Linked DNA regions of Homo sapiens: regions 1, 3, 4, 5 and 6 are each linked to region 2. The links are contacts of gene promoters, found by promoter capture Hi-C in human tissues and cell types (Jung and others, 2019). All regions are on one chromosome and are shown on one strand. The core of a region is centred on a gene start or on the middle of the fragment in contact, and the rest is flanking DNA. Distances in the headings are between cores, read along the strand shown. Region 1 overlaps GALNT18 (polypeptide N-acetylgalactosaminyltransferase 18). Region 2 holds the start of GALNT18 (polypeptide N-acetylgalactosaminyltransferase 18). Region 3 overlaps GALNT18 (polypeptide N-acetylgalactosaminyltransferase 18). Region 4 overlaps GALNT18 (polypeptide N-acetylgalactosaminyltransferase 18). Region 5 overlaps GALNT18 (polypeptide N-acetylgalactosaminyltransferase 18). Region 6 has its middle 11 kb from the start of MIR8070.

Region 1 (2,879 bases), core at 102-2,601, 150 kb after region 2:
TGCCCTTGGGGAACTGCTGCAACCATGAGAGAGGTAGAAAGCCAACCAGAAGGACGGATGGACAGGCGGAAGCCAGGGTAGACCTCTTAAAAAAGGAGTGGAATGGAAGCAAGTGGGGGAAATGAGAGGCTAGGATGAGAGTGACCCAGAAAAGGTTTTCTTAGATGAGGGAGACTGAAGCACAAGGATGATGGAAGAAAATGGTCCTGAGGAAAGGCAGGGAAGGAAGATACAGGAGAAAGAGGGATATTGATGTGCCCGGGCCCCTGAGTATGAATGGGGAGAAATCAAGAAGCCATTTGGCAGGACGTTTGATTCTCAGGCAAAGGTTTTTAGGAGGGGGACCTGGAGGGGGAAAACATCCCACTGAGCACAGTAGTGTCCTGGGGCCACAGATGGTCAGAGGCTAAGAATGCAGCATGGAGACACCATGGTACCTGACTTCCTGGCAGTCCTTCCTGTTCTGTAGTCTGGGGAGATGCTGCCCAGCACAGGGCTCACAGGGGCAGGAAGAAGCTCTCTGGAAGGAAGGGGTCTGAGAATTTGCCAAGGGACCCAGCTAGTGGAGCCTGAAAGGGGTCTTTCAGTCAATCCCCTGTCTCTGCCAATATCTCAGCTAGCTTAGTAGTAGACAGGAATCATATACAGATCAAAAGATCAAAATTAGCTAGCGATTAGTCATCCTATCACTATCCCCAAGCCTCTAGCATAGGAATAATGGGGTCTACAGCATGCTCACTTGCCTAGCCGACTGCGTGGAGGATAGCGCCTTCCTCACACACTGATGACAGAGGGAAAGTGAGATAAATGGAGAAGGATAGGGGGCTTCTTCTTGTCTTCTAAGATGGAAATTCCCATCCATAGATCAAGATATGAATGTAGGGCATGACCGTACAATTTCCTCCATGCCTGCACAGGACTATGTAGAGACAGAATGTGGATGTCCCTTGGTGCCTGGGTCTTAACCTTAGGGCCTGAGGACTGAAGACCTGGCCTTGAACCTGGTGGTACAGGGTCTCTGCCCTTAGTGACACAATGAAAGTAACAGCTGTGGTCAAGCATGGATGGGGGCTGGCTGTGAGACTTCTCAAGGCAGGGAAACATCTTGGTCACAGCTTCAAAACCATCCTCATCCAAGTGTCCCTGTCAATTGGCAAAAGTAACCTGAGAGGCAGAAGCAGATTGGAGGGACAGTCTTTCTCTAAAGGTTCCTATGGGAAGCAGTTACAAAGGCAAGCAAACAGGACTTCAATTCATTCAAAGAACAAAATCCTCTTGGAGACCAGTGATGTTTTGGAAAGCTTGTGACTAGGGACCCTGTTCTGGGGGCCTGATGGAATGACTATGTCCTTAAATATGCTCTTCTCCAATGGAGCTGAGTGGAAGACAGGCTGAGGGGGTCCTTGGAAAAGGCCCCATGTCTAACTGCCACCTGAGCCCCTAAATACCTTTGGAAAAGTCTGCAAGAGGAAGCTGAAAACACCTAAGGGAGCCTATACTCATTCCCCAACAACCAACTCACAGTCCACCTTTTAGCAAATCTGCTTAACACCGTCCATGTAGCCAGCCCTGAGACCCTCAGCTGACAAGGGCATGGATGATCCTTGCTTTCAGAGAGCTCACAGCCTATGTGAGCAGCCCTAAATGGCCCTCATGGATCAAACTGAAAACAAGTCAGAGGTTGATCACCAAGATGCAGATCCAGTGAGGTTTAGAGAAGAAGTGAATTAGGGGTCAGGGGACCAGGGATTGCTCTCTAGAGGACAGGGGCTTCTGTTGAGCCCTGCAGCAGCCTGTCTCTGCCATGGAGATCTGTACTGGACCCTGTAAAAGACATAGCCATAACAACAAACTTGACGAGGACTGTCTATTGCTGTGAAGCTTGGAAGTGCTTATAATGAGGGGCAGGCTTTCAGCGCTGTCTCCATGCCTTTCATCTGCTCCCTCTGTGAAGTCCCTGGGAACAGTCTGGTACCATGGTTTGGGGCCTTCGTTAGTTCTGCACTGTCTGAGACATTCACAGAGGCAAGAAAGCAGACGGGCTTCTTTATGTTTATAGCAACTCAGACTGCTTTTCTTGGCTACCGGGATCCAAAAAATAATATCATCAGAGCTGGCTGATTCACAGTGACGTGGTTAAAGAGTGCTGTGTCCTGGTGGCCTCATCTCAAGAGGCAGTGGTTGTGCCCAACACACTGTCCCTACCAAACCCTGGCAACCGCTGTATGGCCATCTGTCTATAGGACTGTCCATCTGTCCAGCCAGCCAGCCAGCCCCATGTGCAATGATGGTCCACCAGCAATACTCATTCACCTATCCATCTCACACTGGAGAACGAAGGTCGCTGAAGGCAGGGAGCCTGTTGGACTCCTGTATCCTTCTTTCGGTGGTTTATAACATTTTCTCCAGCACCAGCACCTGTAGAATCTGCCACACCCCCTTCAGTGACAGCTGCTTACAAAGCTGGTCATCCTTGAAGTGGAGTGGTAGACCAGCATTAGCGAGCATCCTGTTTGAAAAAGCCCCCAGACCCGAGAATCTTAACTACAAGTGACTCAGGAAAGTGGGGCTCAATGAAGAGTCCCTGAGATCCTCTGTCCTGCAACCTGGCCTGGCTTTGACTCCCAGCAACCTCCCTGCAGCCCCAGCCTCACCTGCCCTTAGAGCAAGGGCTGGTTGGAAGCTTTTTTTTTTCCATCTGTTTCTCCAAGTGTATGCTGGGGAGCACTGCTTCAGAAACACATGAGAAGTTTGTGGTATGGAGAAAAGACTCAGAATCTTAAAACAAGACTTGGCTGTTTCTTAGAGCTGCATGGCAGGCAGGAAGGAGGCGAGCACTCACCAGTGGGGGCCTGGGGACCGCCACAGCCTGTGTCCTT
Region 2 (3,339 bases), core at 6-2,505:
CTTGTGGGGCCAGTCATTTGAATCCAGAAGATATCCCAGGATGGAGCTGCCCTGAGTATTTCTGTGGCTGGTTGGAAGGCTGGCACACAACAAAGTGGGCATGCAGCAGGCTGCCTCCCTGGCTTAGGCCAAAAAAATAAAGCAACTCAGAGATGGAGAAGAGGCAGGAAATCTATGTTGTAAAAAGTCTTTGTTTAAAGGAATTCCGTTCAGGTGCTGAGAACGGGGTGTTCAGCAGAAGAGGATAATATGAGTAAACATTGGCAGTAAGAACAAACACAGCAGTATCACTGTCTGCGTCTGGCCTCCTCCTGTGCTCAGTCACAGGTCTCTCCCACCGCCCTCTATGATAGCAATCATAAACAACATGTAGAAGGGCTTTACAGTTCACAGACCTCAGTTCCCCTCAGCGGCACTTCCTTGCAGGGTTTCTTTATGCACTGGATGACCCTGGTTCCACATAAATGAAAACTGGGCTTAAAGGACACATCCATGTCCTGGGAGCTGTACAGACTTAAAGAAAAACCTAGATAGGGGCAAAAATTGGGGCAGGCGGTGGGGGTGGGGGGTGGGGGGTGGGGGGGGGGAAGAAGTGGTCGAGAGAGTCATCTAATAGGTCACCAATGTTGCTTCTGGGAGGTTGCCGGAGGGTTGGCTCCTTTCAGCCAGGTTTAGGGCCAGGTCTGGACACACTCAGGAGGCCGGTGGCTGAAGGGCAGAGGGCAGGGTGGAGGCCCAAGTGAGGCCAAGGAAGGAGTGGATGCCGCTGGGGCTGGCACTTCCTTGGCTTCTCAGCGTCCTGGCAACCAAGAAAAGATTCCAGGAGTCGACTGGTGGCACCAATGCGAGAAGCCCCGGGCGGATGAAAGAAGCTGACCCGTGCGAACCCCCCACCCCCTCCACAAAACCAGGAGATTCCTGCCCAAGAGCAAGAGATGGAATTCCCCTAACGGAGGAAGCTGCCGACCTAAGGGCTGGGACTGGCAGCGCGCCCTCTCCGGGAGCTTCAGGTCTGGGGCAGCCTGTGCAGGCGCGGGTGGAGGCCCGGGCGCGTCCCTGGGGGCGGGAGCCAGGGGCGGCCAGCAGGTGGGGCCTGGGAGCTGGACTCCGCCCCCCGCTCCCTCCCCGTTGGTCCGCTGCCGCTCAGCACCGGCCCCTCTCCCGAGCCGGAGCGCGATTGGTGGCAGCGCTTGTCGCTCGGAGGGGGCCGGGCCGCTCTGCTTCGCGGCTCTCCCCGCCGCCGCTGCCGCTGCCGCTGTTCTCCTAGCAGCGCGGGCCGGTCGGACCGCCAAGGCAGCCGGCGCTGGCGATGGGAAGCGGCGTGGCCGCCGACACAGGCAGTGGCAAAGTTTCCCAGACGTACACATCTGGACGCGCGGCTGCCGGCTACCCGTGACCCCTCTAGGAAGGGTTCAGGGATTTTTAATTTGGAAAAAAATCCACCTGGTTTCCTTTGTCAAGGTCTCTCCGGGTGGCCAGCGGCAGGAGCTGCAAACTTGGGCACGGCGGCTACACCGGCAGCGGACCGGGCTTTGGAGAACCTCGGGACTCAGGTGCTGAGGTGCCCAGCGGCTCCGGACGTGCTACGGGGTGCGAGCGCGGGGGAGTTCGGGGCGCACGACAAGGAAGGGCCCCCGGGAGCTCTATATGGAGGAAGGAGCCCAGAATGGTGTGCACCAGGAAGACCAAAACTTTGGTGTCCACTTGCGTGATCCTGAGCGGCATGACTAACATCATCTGCCTGCTCTACGTGGGCTGGGTCACCAACTACATCGCCAGCGTGTATGTGCGGGGGCAGGAGCCGGCGCCCGACAAGAAGCTGGAGGAAGACAAAGGGGACACTCTGAAGATTATTGAGCGGCTGGACCACCTGGAGAATGTCATCAAGCAGCACATTCAAGGTACGGGCGCCCCGGAAACTTGGGTCGCCCATGAGGCCCGGGAGTGCCCCGCGCGGCGCGGGGTGCGCTGGGGCTGGTGCGCATCAACTCAGCCACGGCGGGGCTCTGGGGCCGCAGATGCGTGGTAGTCGTGGGGCCTGCGTGTGAGCTCCTGCCTGCGTTCGGGACCTTCTGTCTGCGGCCGTGCGCTCTTCCCCGGGGCACACGTGTGTGCGCAGGGCTGCACGAGCGGATGTGTGCAGCTAGCTGGCGGTATGGGGGCGCGCTGCGCACGTGTCCAAATGTGCGTGTGACTCTGGGCTGGTTGCTCGCGGGCTCTCGGGATCGCACACAAGTCCGGCTCAGAGTGTGTGTGCATGTGAATGTCTGTGTGTGTACAAGAGGGAACGCGCGGGCAAACGAGCTTTTTTGGCCACTGTAGGCGTCAGGCGAGATGCCCGCGCGGCGGCCCTGACTATTGGCAGTTAAGACCCGCAGGCTGCCGGACAAGCGAGGCTAGGAAAATTGCGTTGTATCAGCCCCAGCCCCAGTCTTGCTGTGATCCCGTTGGTAGGCGATAGGGAATGCAAGGAGCCCTCTGTGGTTGAAAAGCCGCTTGAACCTATAGCAGTCCCTACCCCCACCACAGCCCGCGGGTCCAGGACCCTCTCCAGGAGCAGGTGTCAACGCCGGGAAGTAGCGCTGGAGTCTCTGTCCACTGTGGTGATGACTCCGCCCAAGACTGGAAGAACACGCCCTGGGCTGCGCCTTCCCCGCGGAGCCGCCCGGGACCGGGTGAAGGCCGATCCCTACTGTAGCTCCACTCTCAGGCCCTGGGAGCAGCCGGGGCTGAGCAGACCTGGGTTGGGTCTGAAGTGTAAGGTTACGCTGGTTGGGTGCGCTCCAGACCAGCGCGGGGGTCCAAAGGGAGGGTGGGGGTTGCAGGGCGCTCTCCCGAGGCGACCTGGTCAATGAGCTGTCATGGGAGGGAATGGAGTTCCGGGCGCCAGGAGCACTGGTGCCGGGTGTGCACACACACACACACACGCGCGCGCGCGCGCGCTCACGTCCACACTTCCTCCCCTCCCCGCGCCCCCTGCTTTCTTCCAGGTGTGTGAGCTTCTTAAGGGCAGGGCCGAGCTTGGTTCCCCTGTAAACCTAGCAGGCCCACCAGGCTCAGGGGCCAGTGCATGGCAGACCTTGGCAAAATCGAATTGAACTGAAGGCTTACCCCCCACCCCCCCGCCAGGAGCACTCCCTTTTGTTTACACGTGGATGTCTGAATTCCAATCCTTGCACCTGCTGCTCTTGCCAGAGTAGAGATGGCTCCTCCGTCTGAATTTGGTGTTTCCCCAGGTGTCCAGAATAGTTCCTTTCCAGGAGGGGAAGGTTCAGGGAGGTTCAGGTGAGTGCAGGAGAGGCATCCACATCCATAGTGCTTCCTGACTAATGACTTCAA
Region 3 (3,299 bases), core at 8-2,507, 170 kb after region 2:
CAGGGGTGCACTCTGACCCACTGTCTCCTGTTCCTTCTTTCTCCAGAGGCTCCTGCCAAGCCTGAGGAGGCAGAGGCCGAGCCCTTCACAGACTCCTCTCTGTTTGCACACTGGGGCCAGGAGCTCAGCCCCGAAGGCCGGCGCGTGGCCCTGAAGCAATTCCAGTACTACGGCTACAACGCCTACCTCAGCGACCGCCTGCCCCTGGACCGGCCCCTGCCTGACCTCAGACCCAGTGGGTGAGCAGAGTCAGTGACTGGGCCCTTGTCGACCTGCCTATGGGGAGATGGGGTCCCCAGAGTGCTGGGAACAGAGCAGGACTGGGCGCCTGGATTCTTGGGTCCCTTTCCTGCTTCAGCCAGGGCCTGTCCCCTCGGCTTGCGTTCAGCAAGTCACTCTCCTCTTCCCTCAGCCTCAGTTTCTCCATTAGCTGAGTAGGGGCAAAGCTTTCTTCCAGTAGAGATTTTGAGGATTAACAACTTAATTTACTCGTTAAGGACACTACAATCATCTCACATTCCTGTTAATACGTCATTTTAACCCAATTAGTTGCATTTTATGCATAATCTTTTTTCTGTAAATTAGTTTTTAAAGTACATCTATCTTGTGGGGCTAACAAGTCGTTACATCTGACAGAGAAGTCTGTCTTGACTTCTCTCTTTGTTACAGAAGGATGTTCCTTTAAGGTTCAGTGAGAATTCTTACTACTCCCAATTATTGAAAATGTGGGCATGTACCTCAGCTGAGAAAATCTCATTAATTTTTGTGAGCTCCCCCCCACAGTGTTTTCCCCCTTTTCTCCTCATTTTTACATTTTTTTAAAAGCTGCAAACCACAGTGAGCTTATATCTGGAGTCTTTGAGAAAGATCTTGCTGCTGGGTTTGGAGGCCGTGTTCTTTTAGGGAGAAGATTCAGTTCAGCTCCACAGACATTCATTGAACACCTGCTGTATACTGTATAATTGGGTATGGTTATTTGTGGCTCAGGGAGAACCTGGCTCGGCTAGGATGAAAGAGCAGCTGAGGATGTCCAAAGGGAGAGAAGAATGTGCTTTCACTTGCAGGTCATTTATTAAGCACTTCTGTGCCAGCATAGTCTAGACACAGGGATGATACGGTTTGGCTGTGTCTCCACCCAAGTCTCATCTTGAATTGTAGTTCCCATAATCCCCACATATTGTGGGAGGGACCAGGTAGGAGGTAACTGAATCATGGGGGTGGTTTCCCCCATACTGTTCTCCTGATAGTGAGTAAGTTCTCATGAGATCTGATGGTTTTATAAGCGTCTGGCATTTTCCCTGCTGGCTCTCATTCTCTCTCCTGCCACCCTGTGAGGAGGTGCCTTCCACCATGATTGTAAGTTTCCTGAGGCCTCCCCAGCCATGCAGAACTGTGAGTCAATTGAACCTCCTTCCTTTATAAATTACCCAGTCACAGGTATTTCTTCATAGCAGCATGAGAATGGACTAATACAAGGGACAAAGCAGTGAACAAAACATACAGAAACCCCTGCTTCACAGAGCTGGCATTCTAGTTGGGTGGAGGCAGAGAGTAAACAAAACAAAGAAGTCAAATATGCAGTATGTTAGGTGGTGGTGAGTGCTATGGAGAAATATAAAGTCGGAGAGAGAGAGAGACACCTGGGACAAGAGTGGGGAGCTGCAATTTTTCCTGCGTGGTCAGAGAAGACCTCAGTAAGAGGTAACATTTGAGCAAAGACCTGGAGGAGAAGAGGAAGCAAGCCATGAGGGTACTGTTGGAGGATGGGGGGAGTACCTTTCAGGCAGAGGAAGTGGCAAGTGCAAAGGCCCTGAGGCAGAAGCACGCATGGCACGTCATGTTTGAGGAAGAGGAAGGAGGCCCCTGTGGCTGGAATGGGGTGTGTAAGGGGGCAGTAGTTGGAGATGAGGCCAGAGGAGCAACAGGAAGCAGATCATTAGGGCCGTGGTTCTCAACCTTGCTGCCCATTCTACACATCACGGGAGCCTTAAAAAACAATCCTGATGCCAAGGCCACACCCCAGACCAATTAGATAAGTGTTTCTGGGGCAGCACTCAGCTTCAGTATTGTTTAGAGCTCCTGGGTGATTCCGATGTGCAGTCAAGGTGAATCCCAGGAGAAGGGCTTCATAGGCTTTTGCAAGGAGTGCAGCATTTACTCTGTGAGACAGAGATCCATGGGAAGGGCTTGAGCAGATTAGCAATATGCTAATTGTCACTTGCAAAGGTGCCTGTGGCTGCTATACTGAGAACAGACCGAGGGGGCAAGGCTGGGAGCATGGAGACCAATTAAGAGGCTTCCAGGTGAGAGGCAGTGGTGGCCTGGACCATGATGGCAGCAGGGGAGGTGCTGAGATGGGGTTGGATTCTGGAAATATCCTGAAAGTGACCTCAGCTAAGTGTCATGGGGCCTCAGTCCACAGAGGAGCTGCAGAGACCACTCCTGGGTCTGGAGAGGAGCTGGTCTGGTGGGGGCAGCACACAGGGGCTCTGGAGAAGAGATCATCAGGAATAGGGCCCTCTAGTTCCTGCAGGGGACTTGGCCATGACCTTGGCCAGAAGAAGAGCCATGGACTTTTCAGTCAATCTGTTACAAAACACAGGCACAGCTCAATCCATATTTGTTCAAAATTAAAGGGAAAATGGAAAGGAAGCCAAGGAAAGGGTGGATTTTACAGATTATAACCTGGTTATAACAACAACTGGGATTCCCATAGTGCTGGACGTGCCGATAATGCCCTTCCCATTTGGACCACATTAACAGGGCAGTGAAGGTACGCCAGGCAATGGTAGATTCTTCCGGTTTGAGTTGAGGAAACTGAAGAGCGGAAAGAGTGTTGTCTGAGGTCACACAGTCAGATAAGCAACTGAGCTGAGCCTTGAGCCCATGTCTCAGATGCCGGATCGTGGCTTTGACATCGGCCCACCATTGTTTATTTGACTGTGCACAATGCTGCACAATGAGAGCGCATGTGGGAGCCCTTGATCTTTGACTGAGAGAAGCGCCCCACCCACTCTCACCTGTGGGAGGAATTTGCCTGAGAGAGGGAGGAACTCTGAAGGACTTTAGGTGGGCAGAATTCTACAGTTTTCTTCTGAGCTGCTGGAGAGGAGCAATCGTCCTTACAGAGAGACCTTCCCTCTGCACAGAACTTTACAGTCTGTGGAGCTTCCACACCTCCCCCGTGGCACCAAGCAACTTCTGTCAGCCCCTTTTTCCAGACAGAAAAACAGAATCTCTGATAAAAGGCAGAGCAGAGCCTCCTCACTCCTCAGGGAGGGCTCTGTGAAAGTGGCTTT
Region 4 (3,285 bases), core at 556-3,055, 240 kb after region 2:
CCCTGTGTTTCCTTGGCGTCTAAGTCTGAAGAAATGAGAGCTGGCAAGCAGCCTGCCCTGAGCAGGCCCGGAGAGGAGGCTCCCCGTGGGGATGTGGAGAGTGGCCTGTGACCTCCCAGGAGTGAGTGGTGTTTCATCACTGCTTCTGGTAGTGCTGGTTTACAGAGGTCCCTCCAATGTCAGGAGATCAGGGATTTGTGGACAGTAGGAGAGAGCTGAAGTAGCAACATAAGCAGGATGACACCTGGCCCCATGCAGGGTGCAAATTGTATTTCTCTGTCAACATGGGCTATCGACAGCTGCACATTGACTCTAGATCTGGCAGAGTCACAGCAAGCAGACTCCCTGCCTCCTCTTTCTCCAACGCATTAAAACAAGCACAAAATATACCTTCCCTTTTCCTTCCACAATTATACTACTGTCCTAACCCACCAAGACACTTTATTAAATGTTATTTATAGAAATTTCAAAAAATTAATTAAAGATAGCTTGCATAGGGAATAAAAGGTAAAAGTCAATCAGCTTTTAAATTTGAACCAGAAAATCAAAGGTTTAGCAAAGATAGGGCAGCAAAAATCCTGATAAAATCTTTGTGATTAGTCATTATATTTGTCTTTGAGCTTCCTGGCAGCCTTAGCAAGAAGGCAAATATGATGGGCTGGGTACTTGTGTTTGGCTGTAAGAAAAAACACAAGTTCAACTCCAAAAACACAATCTTTGGAGCTAAGAAGTTCTGAGAGATATTATATGTGAACAGGTATGTGTGTGTGTTTATGTGTATATAAAATAGTTAATAGTCAATATATATAATATACAATGGACAGTGTTTTGGAAAGCAATTTTCCAGCCAACGCAGAAGTATTTTTGGGATAGTTCTTTCTTGCTTTGGCACTTAACAAAGATTGAAAGAAAACATGAAAACCTAATTAAGTAAAGGTACTTTGCAAAGACAGAGCCAGTATCATCTAGGGTACTTCAAGGCATTTTGTTTCTTCTTTATTTTCTTTTTTGGATAGCAGTTGTTTGGTTGGGGCTAAGAGAATTCCCTCTTCTAATCAGCAGCACATGTTTGGGATGCAACTAACTGGGGATGGAATTTTTCTACTATCTGGTCCACCAGAAGCCTTTACTCTAGCTCAGTGTTAACAGAGCTCGCAGGTACAAAGAGGCAAGTAGCTCCTATAGGAAGCAAAGCTTTCCATCTCTTGCTGCCACCCCTCAAAGCTCATTCTTCCTCTGATTGCATTTCCTGTGCATCAGGAGTTCACAATCTTATTTTAACCCCAGCACCGGACCAGAACAATAGAAAATGTTTATTACAGCCATTGTGTATAACAAACCATTCCAGAAGTTATGGTGTGAATCAGCAACCATCCATTGGCCCAGAATCCTGCAATAAAGGCTGGGATCACTGGGCAGCCTGTCTCTGCTCTACACAATGGCTCTCCCTGTCATTTGCAATCAGCTGGTGGCCCGACTGGGGCTGAAGGATCCACGAGGGCCTCACTCACCTGTCTGGGGCCTTTGTGGGGTGGCCTAATGACTGGGCTGGGGAAGAGGCTGCCTAGACCTTCCTTAGTTAGGGCAGCAAGACAGCAAATGCAAAAGGCCTGGAACTTGCGCAGGGTCCCTCTTGCTGTGTCCTGCTGTGTCACGGTCCAGCCCAGACTCAGTGTGTGAGGCAGCCACACAAAGATGTGAATTCAGAGAGGTGAAATTCATAGGAGACCATTTGGTAGCAATCATCCTCAGCCTCCTCCCATCAATACCTTAGTCATGGTAGGTATTGGCAGGAGTCAACTGGCAGGAGTCTCACCTGAGGGTTGAGGAGGGAGAGAAGGGGACAGGTATCCCTTTCATGGGGAAGAGAGGGGATTTGTATCAGGCCATTTGGTACTAGCCCAGTTCTCACTTCAAGTTCTGTGCACTCAACACTTAACTGCCACCATCAAAAACCCAGATATCAGACTTTATGAGCTCTATTTAAATTTTTCAAAAAGGATATATGAGAAATGGACCTTGGAAGTGATAAAACAGTAAATGTTTTAAGAAGCCTCCTGGCAACGGTGCTTGAAGACCTTGTAAGTGTGAGACATATTGAGTTATGCTGCTCCATGGCCAATGTCCTGACATTTGTGGGACAGTGACCTCCCCAGGCAGCTGCAGCAATTGGAGATCTTGAGGTCATTTCCGTATGGACTGCAGTGAGATATACAGCATGTCAGTGGCAGCCCAGAAGTCAGTCGAGTTTTCTCCAGGCTGGAATGAGGACACTGACAGCCCCCACCAGCCCTAGCTTAGGACAGGGGTCACACTGTTTAAAAGGATCACTTGAATGACAAGAAAGGCCATATGCTCATCACTTTTGCAGAAGCTGGAAACCTAGAAGGGCTGGATAAGAAAGACATTGGGTAATGAAATCAGGGGACAAAAACACTTTGACCTCCAAAGAAATAGTGGAAATCTTTAGAAAGGCTGATTAAATAAAAGTAAACATAAGATTCTTTGTTTTGACTCAGAGCAGGCACCCATGTGTGCACACACACACAAGCACCTGCACATGCACCCGCATCCACAGAGATGGGATGGAGGAGGCCTGACTTAGTAGCACCATGTAAAAATAATTTGTAAGTATATGTTAGCAGTAAGCTTAATTTGAGACAAAAGCAATCAAAGTTGTTGTGACTTTAGATTATATTAATAGGAGCATAGATTCTAGATTAAGGGAGGTGATTTATTTCTTCTATTCTGTATAGCCCAGTTTACTTTAGAAGTATTAGGTCAACTTCTGCATAATATGAAAGGGTTCAAGAAAAACTAACTTAATTAGAGGGAAGTTCAACATGATTAGAGAATTTGAAATCATGAAATATGCGGAAACACAAGGAAGAACTGAAGATATTTGACCTAGAGAAGTCCTTAGCAAGGACTTAAGAATGGGCTTCAGTTGTTATGTGGAAAGTGGGACTTGATCTGTCTTCTATGGCTCCAAAATAGGTCCCATTGGACTCATGAATGTAAGATTGAGGGACCCTGGCATTTGGAGGTCAGAAGAAGGAAGAACATCTAATAGTTGAAGAGGCCCTCTAAGGAATGGATTGCATGGATTTCCCTTTTACTGCAGGGGCTGCATGATCACTCATCAGGGCAGACAGAGGGAATTCACACCTTGGGATGGATGCTTGGTTCAAAAGGAACTTTAGAATCCTGTCCAACCAACTGTGAGGGCTGTCATGGGCTCTTGCCTTAGCTGCTATGAAAAAGGTAATGAATGCAGTGGCTGTG
Region 5 (2,949 bases), core at 82-2,581, 200 kb after region 2:
AGGCTCAAGGCCACATAGCCAGGAAGTGCTAGGACAGGAATTCAAATCCAGGCCCGCTGGCCCTGGACCTTGTATCTCCTCTACTCTCCCACTCCTGGAAGCCTGGGAGGCATCAACTTGGGCACCTCCTCTCTGGTTCTCTCCTGACAGCCAGCCCACCCCATTGCTTCTTAGGGAGGGCAGACCAGAGCCAGGACAGCCGCCACATGCACTAAAATGGCAGGTCCAACGTAGGTGAGCCTCCCTGGTCCTTTCTTGGGTGCAGGTGATGGCTGGGGTCCTGCATCTACTTTGTTGGGGGCAGCAGGCAGGCTTGGCCAGGAAGGGTTTCCCAGGCTGGTGTTCAGGCTTCCAGCTGGGCACCACTCAGCTAGCTGCCACTGGCCCGGGCTGGAGTTTGACCCCCACTTCTCCAGGCCTGGGCCTGAGACTCAAGTGACCCCCAGTGCCCCTAGATAGAAAGAGTCCTGACCAGGCGCCCCCAGCTCATTGAGCGCTTAGTATGTGCCAGAGCTATTTTAAGTACTTCACCATAAATTAATCAGTGCCATATGATGGTGGTATGGACCATTACCAATGTCACCTGATGTAACAGGGAGGCAGACCCAGCGAAGTTAAGGAATTTGTCCAGAGTTACAGAGGTGCGATTTGACTGTTTGGTTTCAGCGTCTACACCCTTTACCATTAAACAGGCTGCTTGCCTCTGGTACACCATGGGTCTCTGATTCCAAACAACTTATTTGAATTTTGTCCTTATCCCTTTTCTCCATTCCCTCTGGAGAGAGAGAGATGTTGGGCAGCAGGACCAGTGAAGTAGGAGACAAAAAGGGAACTTCAGAGAAGGGTGTGTCTGTGTCCTAGCCTCAAGCTTTGCCTGGAGCTTTGCCTGGGGTTTCAGTAAGAAGGAGAGATGGGTTGCATAGAGGCTTTCTGGCTTCTGTTGGGTGAGAGGTAATTGAACAGTTGGCAGCCATGCTTTAGGTCACCTTGTGAGAGGGAGGCAGCTTCCTATTCTCTCTGAAATAGGGAGAAATTGGCATGCCTGTGTGAGTGTGCATGTATGTGCATGTGTATGTCTGCACATCTTTATACATGTATATGCAAGTACTCTGTTCATGTATGCACACATACGTTTGTGTACATGTGTATCGTGTTACATACATATAACACATGTGTTTGTGTGCATGCCTTGCATGCATATCCATGTGTTCATATTCATGCATACAAGTGTGTGTGTGCATGTGTGCACACATGTATGTGTTAATGCATCCATGTGAGCACTGTGTTTGTGTGTGTATTGTGTGTCTGTGTGTGAGTGTGCTTGTGGGTGGATGCGGACCTGTGTGTGCGCACTTACGCAGTAGTGTGCATGCATAAGCAGCATATACAGGCACATGGGCACGTGGGCTTGTGTGTGCTTGTGTGAACAGTGGTGTTTCAGTCCCCACTAACAATGGGTTGAGCCTCTTTCACCACCCACTGCTACCTGGAGCCACCTTCAAAATCCTGATGAATGACAAATAATTGCACAACTGTGAATCATTGTTATTTTTAATTGTTGGTAAGAAAGTCAATGTAGTGATGAAATAGAAACAGAGCTCCCCAGATTGCTTGCCACCAGCTGCTGGGTCCTTCCCCACCCCCTGCAGAACCCCCATTATCCCTTGGCCCAGAGTCTGCCTAATCATTGTTTAATGTTTCAAAGATTCTGTCCTACACAAGAGATACTCATTCCAGGCTGTAAAACTACCAACAGCTTTGCATGCAGCTGGAATAATTGCAAAAGTTAAAAAAAAAAAAACAACAAAAAAAACAGAGGAAAAGAATGGTCCAACAGTATTGTGCTTTATGGAGCTTAAAGAATCCCATGTAGCTAATCAAATTACAACCAAGACTCAGGCAGCTTAAAGGTGTTTACACAGCCAAGCACATGGGCTGTCAGCCCGTTCAGCCAAAGGCTCTTTGCCACTGCCTGCCTCTATGGCTTTGACCAGTGCAACTAGGCTGGCTCACCCTCAAGACTGGCAGCAAATACCTGGCAACCTTGGGGTGCACACCACCCAGTACCACCTGAGTCCTGGGTTCTCCTATTGTTGCTCCTTGCTGCCTGAGGTTGCCTCTGCCTGCCACATCCTATACCAGGCCTGAGAGTTCCTCTTGGGCATGGCCACTGCTACATCTCCTCTGGTGGTGTCCAGCAGCACTTTCCCAAGCTCTTACTGTAATGACTTATATGACTCTTGAGTTTCTGGCTACTCTGAGTATTGAATGCCCATCTCTCCCTGTTGATTCAAGCCCTGACCCCAGGCCTGGGCCCTGCTTTGGCCACTTTCTATGGAAGTAAAGTTTCTCTCATAGATATAGATATAGATATAGATGATATAGATATAGATGATATAGATATCTGACAGATTCAACTGATTCAACTGTGTCCATTTCTGAACCTACCTCTCAGCTGCCATGCATGATTCTATGCCAGGGCACCCAGGCCAGGGGCACGTAGGGGCTAAAATAAAGTCTGTGCTGTCTATTTGCTAAATTATGCATCCTGGTGTGAGTCTGTCTCCAAAGTGCCTTTTCTAACTGCATAGTCCAGAGAAGGCACCTTTTGGCCAAGTACATCAAGATGCTGTGTGCTAGCAGCGTGGCCAGTCCTGACCTCTGCAGAGACTCTGCAGAGACTCTGCAGAGAAGTATTGTTTCTTCCCAGTGGGTGGCCTTGACTTAACAGCAGTGCAGCAGCCTGGGATGACTTCCCTGTACCTGCTGGCCAGCAACCCCAGCTTTCCCCAACCTTCTCTGCATTGGTCCTGCGTTTGGCCTGCCTCTGTTTCCTGTCAACTTGCTGTTCTCTGATGGAATGGAATCTTGCTCTGATGCCTGCCTCATCCCCTTAGCTGGGCCCCAGCTTCCCAGCTAGCCCTGGTCAATCCTCTTCCTTGAGGGGCT
Region 6 (3,085 bases), core at 532-3,031, 170 kb before region 2:
ATTTGGAATGGGAATATATTAGTTTGCTAGGGCTGTTGTAACAAAGTACCACAGACGAGACAGCTTAAACAACAAACATTTATTGTCTTCCAGTTCTGAAGGCTGGAAGTCTTAGATTAAGGTGTCCCAAGGTTGGTTCCTTGTGAGGGCTGTGAGGGAAGGATCTGTTCCATGCCCCTCACCTCACTTCTGGTGGTTTGCCAGCATCTTTGGCTTATAGATGCATCGTCTCAATCTCTGTCTTCATGTTCACATGGCATTTTCGCTGTGTGGATGTCTCTGTTCAAATTTCCCCTCTTTGTAAAGATACGGGTCATATTGGATTAGGAGCCCGCCCTGCTCCAGTATGACCTTGTCTTAACTAATTATATAATATTTATATTATTATATAATTTTAGATATAAAATGATTTTAGATAGAAAATTGAGGGCACTGACATTTTTGGGGGGTGGAGGAAAAGAAGTCAGAGAAGATGGGAAGAAACAGCAGAAGAGGATCAATGAACTATAGTTTTGCAGCATTAGGTGACAATTTCAAGAACTGGGTGGGAAGGATCTGTTCCATGCCCCTCACCTTGCTTCTGGTGGTTTGCCGGCATCTTTGCAGACCAGGCTTCTGGTGGTTTGCTGGCATCTTTGCAGATCATATTATACACAGATTATAATCTGTGGTCAAATTTTACCTAGGGTCAGATTATACACAGATCTGTGGTCAGATTATACACAGATTTTTGTAAAAATCTGATTTCAATTGACTAAGTCTTTTTATTTCTTTTTTATGATAATGTGCTAAATTTTATTGATAATCAAGGAAACATAAATTAAAATAGCGATAACATTACACATTCACTAAATCCACAAAATTTAAAAGATAAATCTGCTGATATTAACTATTGGAGTGAATATAGATCAATGGAAAACTATACCTTACTGAGGGAACTATAAATTGATATAGCCATTTTGGAAATGAATATGCTCCAGGACCCAGCATTTCTCTTTCTAGGTATATCCTAGAGAAACTCTTGTTTATAAACACCACACATGTGCAAAAATGTTCCTAGCAGTGCTATTTGTAATAGAAAAATAATGGGAACATCCCAAATGTCCATCATCATGAGACTAGATAAATAAAATGAAGCATTATACAGTAGTTAAGATGAACAAATCACAGCTACACAGCTATAGCATGAACAAATCTTAAAACTTAATACTGAATAAAGAAAAGCAGATCACAAAAGACTCCATACAGCACAATGCCATTAAAAAAAGTTTGAAAAAAGCAAAGCTTAATTTAGTGTTTAGAAATGCATATATATGGAATAACACTATAAGAAAAGCAAAGGAAAGATACACGCAAAATTTCAGGAGAGTGGTTAGTTCTGGTGGGGATAATAAAGGGGCTTGCAGGTTAATTCATGGACATTGGGAATATTCTAGTTCTTAGGCTAGGTGGTAGATTCATAGGATATTTATTTCATTGTTATGTTTCATAATTTATATATATATAAAACTTTCTTTTGTACATGCTCGGTATGATATAATTAAAAATCCAATAACCAGAATGATTTATAACTAGGGAAATTTGTAGTTTGTGGCTACTAGGTTGTAAATTCCTCAAAGGTAGCTATTTGGCAAAAACAAAATATTCAACAATAATTGGACTCAACAATGGATGAAGAATGTTGTGATATGTGTATACTGATGCTTCTGGAGTGCTTTTAAATGTACTTAGAAGAGATTGAAGATTGATATCATGTGAGTCCCCCTGTCATTTTGTCTTTTTAAAAAAATTAATTTAATTTAATTTAATTTTAAGTTCCAGGACTAAGTCTTTTAAATCAGTCAAAATGATTTCCATTTATAGATTCAGGCTTAATTAGCCTCCAGGGGTGCGATATAGGAGCAGTGGCATGAGGACTACGGCTGGAAGCAGAAAGACTAGCGTTCAGCGCTGGTTCTATAGTAATTATATAATAATTATGTAATCAGTTAAGACAGATATAATTTTTAACTGTGCAGATATAATTTCCAACTGTGACACAGTTTCACCTATAACAGGGAAGGTGGTCTTTGGGAGAACAGTATCAGCAGAGGCCAGATTATACACAGGGCAAGGGAAGTAAGAAAGTGGAACCCTGAAATAGAAGGGAAATAGAAGAGCATGGGACAAACGGAAATACACTCACCATAGGGGAAGAGAAGATGTTCAGACTGAGGACAAAGCAAAATGGATGGATGAGCAGTCATCTGTATCCTTGTCTGGATTGCAGCAGGTGGACTTTTCTGCACCCTCCTGTTAGGCTCCGTATTCTTTTGTCTTCTTCTTCTTCTTTTTTTTTTCTTGGTATAAATTATATGAAGAATTGGTTTATCTCTCCACTTTGCTCATAAAAAAAATTGTTAAAAATCATCACAGAGCAAGCAAGCAAGCACATGCAAGCAACCCTGGTTGATATTGTACAATAGAAATATAATGAGGGAGGGAGGAAGGGAGTTCTCCTTAGGATACAACCAGAGCATATGTACTTGTAGAATTTCAGGGTTTTTTAGACAATTTTTTTTCCATAGAAGATATGTAGCTTAGCATGAAGACCATTTCCCTTGAGAAAAACTTTAAAGATAGTAATAATCTTAATTAAATAGTCTTTTCTATTCAGAAGGGAACAAAATTATAAATGTACATATAATTTTCAAGCATATGTTCTTCTTAATGATATTAATATATCCCTAGAGATAGTAGTAAAGCTTCTTCCTAATTAGGTAGTATTTTATTAAACTGAATAAAATCTCATGTTAGTTTGAATACCATTTTCAAGAATTAAATAACATTCAGATTCAGATAGATTTTGTTTCCTCCATGGAAATGATCAGTGCTGGTCAGAAACCAGTTTTAGGATCAAGAAAACAGTGAATCTGCTTGTTAAATAAGAACTCAAATTTCCCAAGATTTTGCCAAGCATGGATATGTCTTATTGTTGATTCTACTTATGCCAAGACAGCTTTTTTTAAAAGTAAAAATAAGAATAATTTGAACTGTGTAAAAATCTGATTTCTTCAATTGACTAAGTCTTTTACATCATATCAGT

The links. The method cuts DNA at HindIII sites, captures the fragments that hold promoters and counts their contacts. A contact is called where the count stands out against the background at its distance.
Region 1: a fragment that was not itself captured here is called in contact with the fragment with the promoter of GALNT18 in region 2 in 1 of the 25 tissues and cell types used here (mesenchymal stem cells).
Region 3: a fragment that was not itself captured here is called in contact with the fragment with the promoter of GALNT18 in region 2 in 1 of the 25 tissues and cell types used here (H1 embryonic stem cells).
Region 4: a contact is called between a fragment that was not itself captured here and the fragment with the promoter of GALNT18 in region 2, in 3 of the 25 tissues and cell types used here (H1 embryonic stem cells, aorta and dorsolateral prefrontal cortex).
Region 5: a contact is called between a fragment that was not itself captured here and the fragment with the promoter of GALNT18 in region 2, in 1 of the 25 tissues and cell types used here (aorta).
Region 6: a fragment that was not itself captured here is called in contact with the fragment with the promoter of GALNT18 in region 2 in 3 of the 25 tissues and cell types used here (heart left ventricle, liver and mesendoderm cells).

Annotation. Positions count from the first base shown.
Region 1 is chr11:11,468,357-11,471,235 of GRCh38, reverse strand. The region is part of intron 1 of GALNT18 (polypeptide N-acetylgalactosaminyltransferase 18); the gene reads left to right. Among named protein-coding and RNA genes, the nearest start is that of GALNT18-AS1, 100 kb to the left of the region's middle. The HindIII fragment of the contact is 5,610 bases long and covers 1-2,879 here.
Region 2 is chr11:11,619,921-11,623,259 of GRCh38, reverse strand. It overlaps GALNT18 (polypeptide N-acetylgalactosaminyltransferase 18), which reads left to right and starts at 1,255. Exons shown (of 11, transcript NM_198516.3): 1 at 1,255-1,901. The coding sequence starts at 1,667. RefSeq lists silencers at 953-1,312, 2,063-2,142, 2,163-2,232 and enhancers at 815-1,315, 1,433-1,512, 1,723-1,772, 2,513-2,742, 2,405-3,339 and 1 more. The HindIII fragment of the contact is 13,654 bases long and covers 1-3,339 here.
Region 3 is chr11:11,445,684-11,448,982 of GRCh38, reverse strand. It overlaps GALNT18 (polypeptide N-acetylgalactosaminyltransferase 18), which reads left to right. Exons shown (of 11, transcript NM_198516.3): 2 at 47-239. Among named protein-coding and RNA genes, the nearest start is that of CSNK2A3, 94 kb to the right of the region's middle. The HindIII fragment of the contact is 8,293 bases long and covers 1-3,299 here.
Region 4 is chr11:11,379,956-11,383,240 of GRCh38, reverse strand. The region is part of intron 3 of GALNT18 (polypeptide N-acetylgalactosaminyltransferase 18); the gene reads left to right. Among named protein-coding and RNA genes, the nearest start is that of CSNK2A3, 28 kb to the right of the region's middle. The HindIII fragment of the contact is 3,628 bases long and covers 1-3,285 here.
Region 5 is chr11:11,421,474-11,424,422 of GRCh38, reverse strand. The region is part of intron 3 of GALNT18 (polypeptide N-acetylgalactosaminyltransferase 18); the gene reads left to right. Among named protein-coding and RNA genes, the nearest start is that of CSNK2A3, 70 kb to the right of the region's middle. The HindIII fragment of the contact is 5,192 bases long and covers 1-2,949 here.
Region 6 is chr11:11,792,340-11,795,424 of GRCh38, reverse strand. No RefSeq gene overlaps it. Among named protein-coding and RNA genes, the nearest start is that of MIR8070, 11 kb to the right of the region's middle. The HindIII fragment of the contact is 5,691 bases long and covers 1-3,085 here.